Linked DNA regions of Homo sapiens: region 1 is linked to region 2. Evidence: promoter capture Hi-C in human tissues and cell types (Jung and others, 2019). All regions are on one chromosome and are shown on one strand. The core of a region is centred on a gene start or on the middle of the fragment in contact, and the rest is flanking DNA. Distances in the headings are between cores, read along the strand shown. Region 1 overlaps LANCL3 (LanC like family member 3). Region 2 holds the start of RPGR (retinitis pigmentosa GTPase regulator).

Region 1 (5,363 bases), core at 2,813-5,312, 660 kb before region 2:
AGTGCCTATGTCTTCCTGCTGCTGTACCGGCTCACGGGAAACTCTAAATACATCTACCGAGCTCAAAGGTCAGCTGTTCTTTATGGGTCTTTTTTTTTTTCAAAATTTTAATCTAATTATTTTTCTGAATTACTAATATAGTCACATGGTTTGAAAAGCATAAAAATAAATACATCAACTGTGCCTTGTAGCCATGCAGTTGACTTCCCTAGAGACAGTTTCTTGGTTATCTTCCCAAAGATATTCTATATACATAGTGTATAAGTAAATGTCTTAATCCATTTGAGTTGCTATAAAGGAATACTTGAGGGTGGGTAATTTATCAAGAAAAAGTTTCCTCTGGCTCATGATTCTGCAGGCTCTACAAGAAGCATCACTAGCATCTGCTTTTGGTGAAAGCTTCAGGAAGCTTCTACTCATGGCAGAAGGGGAAGGAAAACAGACATCACATGGGGAGAGAAGAAGGGAGAGAGGAGGAAAGTGCCAGGCTCTTTTTAACAGTCATCTCTTGGGAGCAAATAGAGTGAGAGCTCACTAATTACCAGAGGATGGCATCAATCTGTTCATGAGCAATCTGCCTCTATGATCCAACCATCTCCCACTAGGTCCCACCTCCAATACTGGGGATCAAATTTCAACATGAGATTTGAAGGGTCAAATTTCTAAACTATAATACATATATATGTGTGTGTGTGTGTGTCTTAGGGGGATATTTAGGTTATTTCTAATATTGTGTACTACAAATAATGCTATGATGACTAATCTTGTGCATATATAATTTTGCACATGTATAGGTATATCTGAAAGATAAATTTCTAGAAATGAAATTGCTGGACTATATATATATATATATATCCTAGTTATATATATAAATATATATATCCTAGTTATATACATAAATATATATATATTTATAATTTTGACAATATAAAATTTTCCTTTATAGTTCATTCCCTGTAAACTTGATAAAGATGGAACATCTGCTGTATACCAGACAACATTGCTTTTAATAGATATTACCTCTGACTGGTAAGCTGGGTAAACTGGGCCAGGAGGACCATAAATGAACTCTAAATAATCTGATAGAAAGCACAAGTAGGGGCTTCCCTGAATGCAGAGTGGCATGAAAGTGGCATTCATTTTGAAGGGACTTAGAAGCTGTCCATAACCATGAATGGTTACAAAAGATATTGTTTTCCTTTGTGGCACTTAGGTCTTCTAAGCCAGAGTGTTCTCTCATACCCACCCATGTAGTCTGGTTCCCATGAATCTGAGCTGTCACTTGGCAGAGGTGGGAGGGGGTCCTAGAGTAGCCCCTGTACTGTTGTGAAGATTCCCACTGAAAGTGTACAGCTGATAATTATCAAATTGATTGTGTGACATTTAACAAATCACTTATTAAAATGAGCTAAGTGACTGTTAAGTGATCTTTAACAAGGTCACACAACCTTTAACAAGTCACTTAGCTCATTTTAACAAGTGATTCTCCATTTCTTCATTCATAAAATATGGAAAATAGTGCCTACCTCATAGGGATGTTTGGTAGTTTAAACAAGTTAATGTATGAAAAATCATTTAGAAATAATGCTTGGCATATAGTAACTGCAATGTAAATGTTCATTGTTATTAGTATAAATTTGAGTTTTATAATTCCAGACTTTTCTTTATGTGTAAATGTATGTTCACATAAATGTATATGTGTACATGTATATTTTAATGAGCTCCTACTACTATATATGTATAATAGTTCTATACATACTGTTTGTAGCTTATAATTTTATTTATTTATTTATTTATTTGAGACAGGGTCTCACTCAGGCTGGAGTGCAGTGGTGTGATTTATGGCTCACTGTAGCCTGCAACTCGTGGGCACAGCTCAGCCTCCTGAGTAGCTAGGGCTACAGGTTCATGCCACCATATGTGGCTGATATGGTTTGGATCTGTGTCCCTACCAAATCTCATGTCGAATTGTAATCCCCAGTGTTGGAGGTGGGGCCAAGTAGGAGGTGATTGGATCCTGGGGACAGAGTTCTCATGAATGGTTTGGCACCATCCCCTCTTGGTACTGTATAGTGATAGAGTTCTCAAGAGATCTTGTTGTTTAAAAGTGCATAGCACTTCCCCCTCCCCTCTTGCTCCTGCTCTGGCCATGTAAGATGTGTCTGCTTCTCCTTCACTTCCTACCATGATTGGAAGCTTCCTGAGGCCTCCCCAGAAGCAGAAGCTGCTATGATTCCTGTACAGCCTGCAGAACTATGAGCCAATTAAACCTCTTTTCTTTGTGAATTACCCAGTCTCAGGTATTTCTTTATAGCAGTGCAAGAATGGACTAAAACAACAACTATTAATTTTTTGTATGCAGAAACAGGATCTTGCTATGTTGCCCAGGCTGGCATTGAACACCTGGCCTGAAGCTATCCTCCTGCCTTGGCCTTCCAAAGTGCTGGGATTACAGGTGTGAGCCCACCACCTCCCCGCTATGTTTGCAGCTTATAATTTTAAATGAACAATTTTTAAGGGACATTCTTTATTTCATTTTGTATGAATCTATCTCATTTTTTAAAATGGCTATATAGTTATTCACTATGCATGTATGATAATTAACCAATCCTTAAATAATGGACACTTGACATTTGTGTAATCTTTAATAACACAAAATTTCCCCAAATATCCAATACATACATTTCTGTGCACTTGTGAAAGCACTTGTCAGAAATTTTAGAATTGAAGTCATTAGATCCATAGGTATTTCTTGGTCTATAAATAGCCTGTCTTTATCCTTTGCCCATTTTTTTCCTGTTGTGATGCTTCTATTCAGAATTGTAACTCTTTGTCAATGTATGCTGTAAATACCTTCCTGCTTTGCCATTTCTCTTTTAATTTTGTTTGTAGCCTTTGTCATACCAAAGTTTTAAGTATTTTTCTTGTCAAAGTTTTCAATCTTTTCTTTAAAATTTCTAGATTTTCTGTTATGCTTAAAAAGACCCTTCCCACTTCAGGATTAGAAAACTATTAATTTACATGGGCTTGTAATAATTTTATGATTTTAACATTAAAATTTTTGATTCTGCTAGAAATTACTTTTTAAATGGTCTCAGATAGGTATTTATTTTTGTTTATTAAAAAAAATTCTAATAGCATCTGTTGACCAGTTACCCCCATGATTTGAAATTCCATTTTTTTATAAACTGAATTTATATAAATATATGAGTTCCATATTTTCCCCATATTCCACCTATCATTCTCTTATTTATTCTTTTAATTGTATTTTAGAGTCAATTTGTCATATTTTTAAAAAAGCTCACAGAAATTTGATTGGAATTTCATTGAATTTACAGTTTGCTTAATGAGAATCAGCATCTTTAGAATATTGAATTTTTCCATCCAGAAACATGGTATACCTTTCCATTTATTTAAGTTTAAACAAATGTCATTGGTAAAGTTTTGATCTTATGAAGAAGATCTTGTATGTTTTTTGTTAATTTTATTCCTGGGTATTTTATGTTTCTAGGTTTATTGTGAGTGGACTCTTTTCCTTCATTATATTTTCATATCATTTATTACTGGTATTTATGGAAGCTTTTAAAACACACATCACTGAAGTTTATCAATTCTAATATGTAATTTTTCATATAAATATAGATTGTATCTTATAAGTATTTTTCTTTTCATAAACATCATAATAATATAGCTGCCTTAATGAACTCCATTACTGTTTCTATTAGTTTTTTATTGATTCTATTGGGTTTTCTAAATAGATACACACATATCTGCAAATAACTATGATTCTGTTACTTCCTTTCTCATGTGCATGGTATTTTTTTTCCACTACATGGTTCTTCTCTATAACAATGCAACCCTATAACAATGTTCAATAATAAGAGGGATAGTAAACACCCTTGCTTTTATGCTGATTTTACTAGGAATGCTCCTATGTTTTACCGTGGTCTTTTATATTCACTTCTTATAATGTTTATCATTATAAACATTAGATTATAAGTGTTAGATTATAACACTTCTCTGTTCAGTGTAATCCAACGGCTTCCCATATGATTCAGAGTAAAAGCCAGTCTTTCCTACGAATGAAAGGTCCTACATGATCTAGCCTCCCATTACCTCTCTAATCTCATTCCCTACTCTTCTTCCTCCTGGTTCTGTCTACCACTGTGGCTTCCTTGTAATTCCATTAGGATGCCAGGTACACTCCACCTCAAGACCTTGGAAGTTTTGGTTCCCTCCACCTGTAATGCTCACTTTCTACGTATATCTCCTAGCTCCCCCATTTCAGTCAGACTTTCACTCAAAAGTCATTTTCTCAGAAAGGCCCTCCCAAGTCAACTTATCTAATATTTAATGTTTAGAAAACATAAATTATTTTTTGTGATATTTACATGAATGCACTGAAGGGCAAATACTAACTTATGTAAGTCTTTGATTTGAAGCTCTGTTGTTTAGGAAATCTGTTAATATAATTGATTCATGGTTTCTTAATCTCTTTAGGTGGAAGCCAGACCTGTTGTTTCCCAAATATAGAAAAAGAAAGTAATTTTGGATATCATCTAGGCTAGTGGGATTTCACCTTTGGGCTAAATTTCATCAGAAATGAATGAAATTCATTTATTCCCTATAAAGCGTATTAAAAGGGATCAGAACAACCCCTCTATTTTCTTTTTTGTAATTTTTAATATTTTAATTTTTTAAAATTTGTGTAAATGTATGGGATTCAAGTTTAATTTTGTTATTTGGATAGATTACATAGTGGTGAATTCAGGGCTTTAGGGTATCCATCACTCAATGAACTTTGTACCCATTAAGTATTTTCTGGCAGGCCAGTCCTAGCTTACAGAGTCTTGGTTATAAGATTTAGGGTCCAGGTCTCTTTAGACAACTTACATTTCTCACTAACAGGTAGAAGACTGGAAATGTGGAGGTAATATCTGAGTATTGTTTGGGCATTGTGTGAACAAAAGTTCTCTGAAACGGAATGTGTAGGAAAGACACTATTCCAGTGAACAGTTTGCAAACAGAGGATACACGGCCTGCGGTGTAAAATGAAGCAGCCTTTCAGCGCTGGGTTTTATAGCAAAGTTGCCTGCCCAGGGTCAGGTCTTTTTATGCAAATGAAGGATTGAATCTCAGTTCCGATTGGTCAGTGCAGCTGAGCCCTGATTGGCCATGGCAGGTGACTCTGATTGTTTGGCTTAGGTGTGATCTGATTAGTTACTTTCCAAGCTCAAAACCAGAAGTCTTTGTCACCTGTTTCTTCCAAATGGCGGGTGGAGGGCTGGCATATCTTGGCACTCACAACGGGAACTGGTTTGGAGAAAGGTCCTGTGATGCTTTTACAACGTCTTTCTCAGAAC
Region 2 (4,599 bases), core at 714-3,213:
AAAAGATCCTCTCAACACAGCTACTCAGGAAGTTTCTAATTCTCATCTTACTCATGCACTATAGTTAGTTATAGAGATGTCTTTTTCTCTTTCCAGAAACAGTACATGGGAAAGGACGGTTTATCTTTCCCCCCAAAACATCATCACAAAATGCCACGGTCCTAGGAGATTGGGAGAGGAGTACATGGGGATGTTGAGATTTTAACATTCTTACATCAAGTCATTACCTGATCTGAGTAGTATTCACAAACTGTTGTGGCACAGCGTCATTTTGAAGAAAGACTAAAAACCCCTACCATTTCCCAATAACCATTTAAACACACACATACACCAAATAGTAGGCCAGGTCCAGCTTTTGGGGAAATCCCAAGGTGGGTGATCACACATAAACTAATTCGTACCAGAAAGGAAAACATAGCGAATATAAGTATTAATAATAAATATTAATACGCAAGAGACTAGCCACTGTGGACAACTTTTTGAGAACCACTGTGAGGCATCTCAGTTCCAACTAATAATTGAGTTGGGAGACTAGGATCTAGAACAGACTCTGAGTTTCCCCAGAATGAATTACTTTAACATTTTAACTGTTTTGTCTTGGCTCCCCTGGCTTCCCTGATACCCTCATCCCAAGCCAAGGTTTGGTGGCTCTGCTCTGGCCCTGTAATATCTACTGTCAATTTATATGGTCATTTTGTTTACTTTCCTGTATGTCTCACTAAATTGTGAACTGCAGGCCAGGAATGTCAGTTCCGGCCAGGAGCATGGAAGAAAACATACATATTTCAGTGAAGGTATGATTCTGCTCAAACCCAGTGTTTTTTCAAAATGGTCGTGACCTATTAGTGGGCCAGAAAATCAATTCAGTGGATCACGATCAGCATTTTAAAAGAATGCATTATCAAAAAGGTGTGTGTGGAATCTAAGTGGATAGAACAAGGACTGCTTCACCAGACATCTATTTCTGTTACACGGTATATATGGAGTATCGGGTCACAATGTCAAAAGTATTTCTAACTATGGAGCTCAGGAAAAAAAAGGCTAAAAAACACTCGCTAAAGGGTCCCTCTTCTCCCTCTTTGTCCAATTTATTTCCTGTATCCCCTTTTACCCCACAGCCCTGATCACTCACTCTTTACTGCATTCAATACATAACCGGGAGCTCAGGACCTCCAAAGTGCACAAGTCTGGAGTCCGCACTTTGGGGAGTTTACAGAAAGTGTCCCTCCCTGGCCGGGCGCGGTGGCTCACGACTGTAATCCCAGCAATTTGGGAGGCCGAGGTGGGCTGATCACCTGAGGTCGGGAGTTCGAGATCAGCCTGACCAACATGGAGGAACCCCGTCTCTACTAAAAATATAAAATTAGCCGGGCGTGGTGGCGCATGCCTGTAATCGCAGCTACTCGGAGGCTAAGGCAGGAGAATCGCCTGAACCCGGGATGCGGAGGTTGCGGTGAGCCGAGATTGCGCCATTGCACTCCAGCCTGGGCAACAAGAGTGAAACTCCGTCTCATAAAAAAAAAAAAAAAGTGTCCCTGCCTTCAAGAAGCTCATCAAGAGCTTATTTAAAAAGCATACGAAAGACAGGCACCCTCTTTCCCGTTCTCCCCCATCCTGTTCTTCCCGTCCGGTCCTCTGCCCTCAGTCATTCGCGGGAGCGCAACCAGCGATCCCGCCCCAGTCCGGCTGCCAAGCCTGGGGCCTGTCCCCCTACAGGGCCGATCCGGAGGCGGGGCCCGGCCGCCCGCGGACCCTCCCTCCCGGCCTTCCGCCACCGGCGCGGGCGCAACTCACCGGGCATCAGCTCTTCCGGCTCCCTCATGCCACGGGCAGTACGGGCAGCCTGCGCCGGGGCCAGGAGGCTGTAGAGGACGGTTTGGTCGGGGCTAAAGCAGCTACTCCGCACCGACGCGGGCCGCGAAAGCCCCCAAGTTCCGCATGGCGAAACTCCGGAGATCAACTACAACCGCGCTCCCGGAAGTCAACAAACAGCCGCTACGGGCAACGGGGGCGGAGCTTGGGAATGCAAGGCGGGACAGGCGCCGTTGGGGAGGGGAACGGAGGCCGGGTGGCTGGTAAGGGGCAGGCTCAGGCACAGCGGAGGGGCAGTAGAGACCACGCGCCCTCTGGCGGCCTGGAGCAGAGAGGCGGCCACGCCGCGCAGTGATGCTGTGGAGTCCGCGCCCTTGTGCCGTTGGAGGTCCAGGCGCCGCAGGGACCCTGCCCATGAGTGGCAAACGTCACAAATCCCATACTCCGTGACATAAGCAAGCATCGACACACAATTATGACACTACTAGTAATAGTGACCAGCTGGAACATTAAAGGAGGTAAGCACTCTGCTAAAGATATCCCCAGCATCTAAACCAACATCTGGCCTATACTGAATGCTCATTACGTATTTATTGGACAAATGAGTACTATTACAACCCTGTAAAGTGGTTAATGTTACCTCTGTTTAAGCATGTGGGCAGCTAGTCCAGCTAGTCCAGCCTGTAGTCAACAAAAGTAAAAGCTGAGGTGTATATGGTCCACTACTCACAGAACATACACAAAGGGGTAGCCCAACATCATTGCTCTAGAATTTGCTCAGCGATGTTATATGATGCAGGGTTTCCCATGCATCAACATTTGGCTATCATGAAATAAAGAAGCAAAAAGCCATCTTCCAGAATGAGCAGATTTACGTACGTTTGGTAGTTGTGGACATGGGCCCTAGAATCAGACACAATTGGATTCAGGGATCCCTGAATTACTCTTGTGTGTTACCAACACTTTCTCAGGAAGTTTGCATTAACATGAAGAGGGGACATTAAACTATTAGTTACACAAATAATCATTTACTTACAAAGCAAAGTGGAGGTTACTAAGGAAGTGGTTAACAAGAAGCGTTGACCTGGTGTAGGAGGTTAAGAAAGGCTTATCTGAAGAAAGAACATTAAATCTAAGAACTGGAGAAAGATAAGCCAGGAGGGGGAGAGAGCTCTTGGCAGAGAGTAAATTGTGTATAAAGGTTTGTAAGGAGCTTGACTCTTTCCAGGAACACCAAGAGGCGAGGCTGGTTCCTAGCGAGGTGGCAAGGTCTTGGGCCTATTAAGGATCTGAGATTTTATCCTAAAGACAATGTGAAACCACTGAGAAGTTTTAGGCAGTAGAACAACAGGACAGGATCAGTTATGTGTGTCCCTGAAATCATTCTGCCTGGTCTAGATGCTTTGTAGAGAATAAACTGGAGCAGTGAGAAGGGTTCAGAGGCTATTGCAGAATTTCAGACATGTGGTCAGGATGGCTTGGAGTACAGTTCATTGGTGCCAGAGAGGAGCAGGCAGATTTGAAAATATTTTAGGTCTTAGAATCAACAGGAAATGGTTTCTGACTATTGACTCCTAGACAGTGCTGGACTACCAAATAGTTCTTAGAGCAACAGCAAAGATAGGGCCCTAAATTATTTTGAAAAGGATTTGATATTCATTTTTAGAGTATCATAATTGTTACTACGGGCAAATGAGAATTTTTAAAGATTTACTTTTTAATATGCAGTCATTTGTTTTTATTTCAAAATACAGTAAGGCACATTTTGGTGCTAAGCATCCCAGAAGATATTGATGCAGCCCTACTCCAAGGTTTCCAACATAAGCAAATAGCAGGAGGGGGGCACCATTTACTGAGATGGGGAACACTGAGGAAAGAGCTGGCGACATTGGAGTTAGGTAAATGGGGCAAGAAGAGCATAATGAGTTCATCCTTGAGCACACTAAGACATCAAATTGGAGGTGCTGAGCAGGTAATTGGTGAGCAGAAGCCCCAGAAGGAGGCACGTATTTGAGGAATGACTGGGTCTATATAGTGAAAGCAGGCTTGAGATACTTGCAACACTGGAAAGTGACTGTAGAATTGAGGCAGTAGAATAGGGTCGGGAGGCAGGAAAGCTAAGGCCAATTCATGCTGACTTCCTAGAACTAAATCAAAAGGAAACCCCAACTTTCCATACCTAAGTAACAAAAGAACCAGAGGCTACTCCCTTTGCAACCCCCACCCCCTTTTTCTGCGTGGCAGACGGAAAATTGAAAGTATCTCTGATTAGTTGCTTTTTGCAACCAATCAGACATTTGCATGGGAGTGTAACTTTGTAACTTCACTTTAGCCTCTGATTGGTTGCTTTCCACAACCAATCAGATGTTTGAATAGGGTGTAACCTTTGTAAGTACACTTCAGCCTCTGATTGGTTGCAAGGCCACTAGTTCATTTACATAGTAACCAATGGGAAATATACCAATGGTTACTTGGGAATGGCACCAAGTAACCAGTGGGAAACCTCTAGAGGGTAATAAAATCCCAGAAAATTCTGTAAAGGGGCTCTTGAGCCCCTGTGCTAGGGCCTGCTCCCACCCTGTACTTTAGTTTTCAATAATGCCATCATCTCCGGCATCTGTGAGTCTATTGCTTTACATGGCAAAAGGGACTTTGCAGTTGTGAGATGCTGGATTCAGGACCTTGAGATGGAGAAATTATTCTAGATTAACCAGGTAAGCCCAATTAAATCCTATGAAATCTTAAAAGTGAAGAGCCTTTCCAGGCTGTGGTCACAAAAAGATGTGA

What was found. Contacts are between HindIII fragments. The study calls those that stand out against the background at their distance.
Region 1: a contact is called between a fragment that was not itself captured here and the fragment with the promoter of RPGR in region 2, in 1 of the 25 tissues and cell types used here (IMR-90 fibroblasts).

The regions. Positions count from the first base shown.
Region 1 is chrX:37,667,422-37,672,784 of GRCh38, forward strand. It overlaps LANCL3 (LanC like family member 3), which reads left to right. Exons shown (of 5, transcript NM_001170331.2): 4 at 1-68. Among named protein-coding and RNA genes, the nearest start is that of XK, 16 kb to the right of the region's middle. The HindIII fragment of the contact is 7,843 bases long and covers 142-5,363 here.
Region 2 is chrX:38,325,546-38,330,144 of GRCh38, forward strand. RPGR (retinitis pigmentosa GTPase regulator) reads right to left here and starts at 1,964. Exons shown (of 15, transcript NM_001034853.2): 1 at 1,795-1,964. The coding sequence starts at 1,822. It also overlaps a transcript of OTC not described here. RefSeq lists a silencer at 1,653-1,902. The HindIII fragment of the contact is 21,321 bases long and covers 1-4,599 here.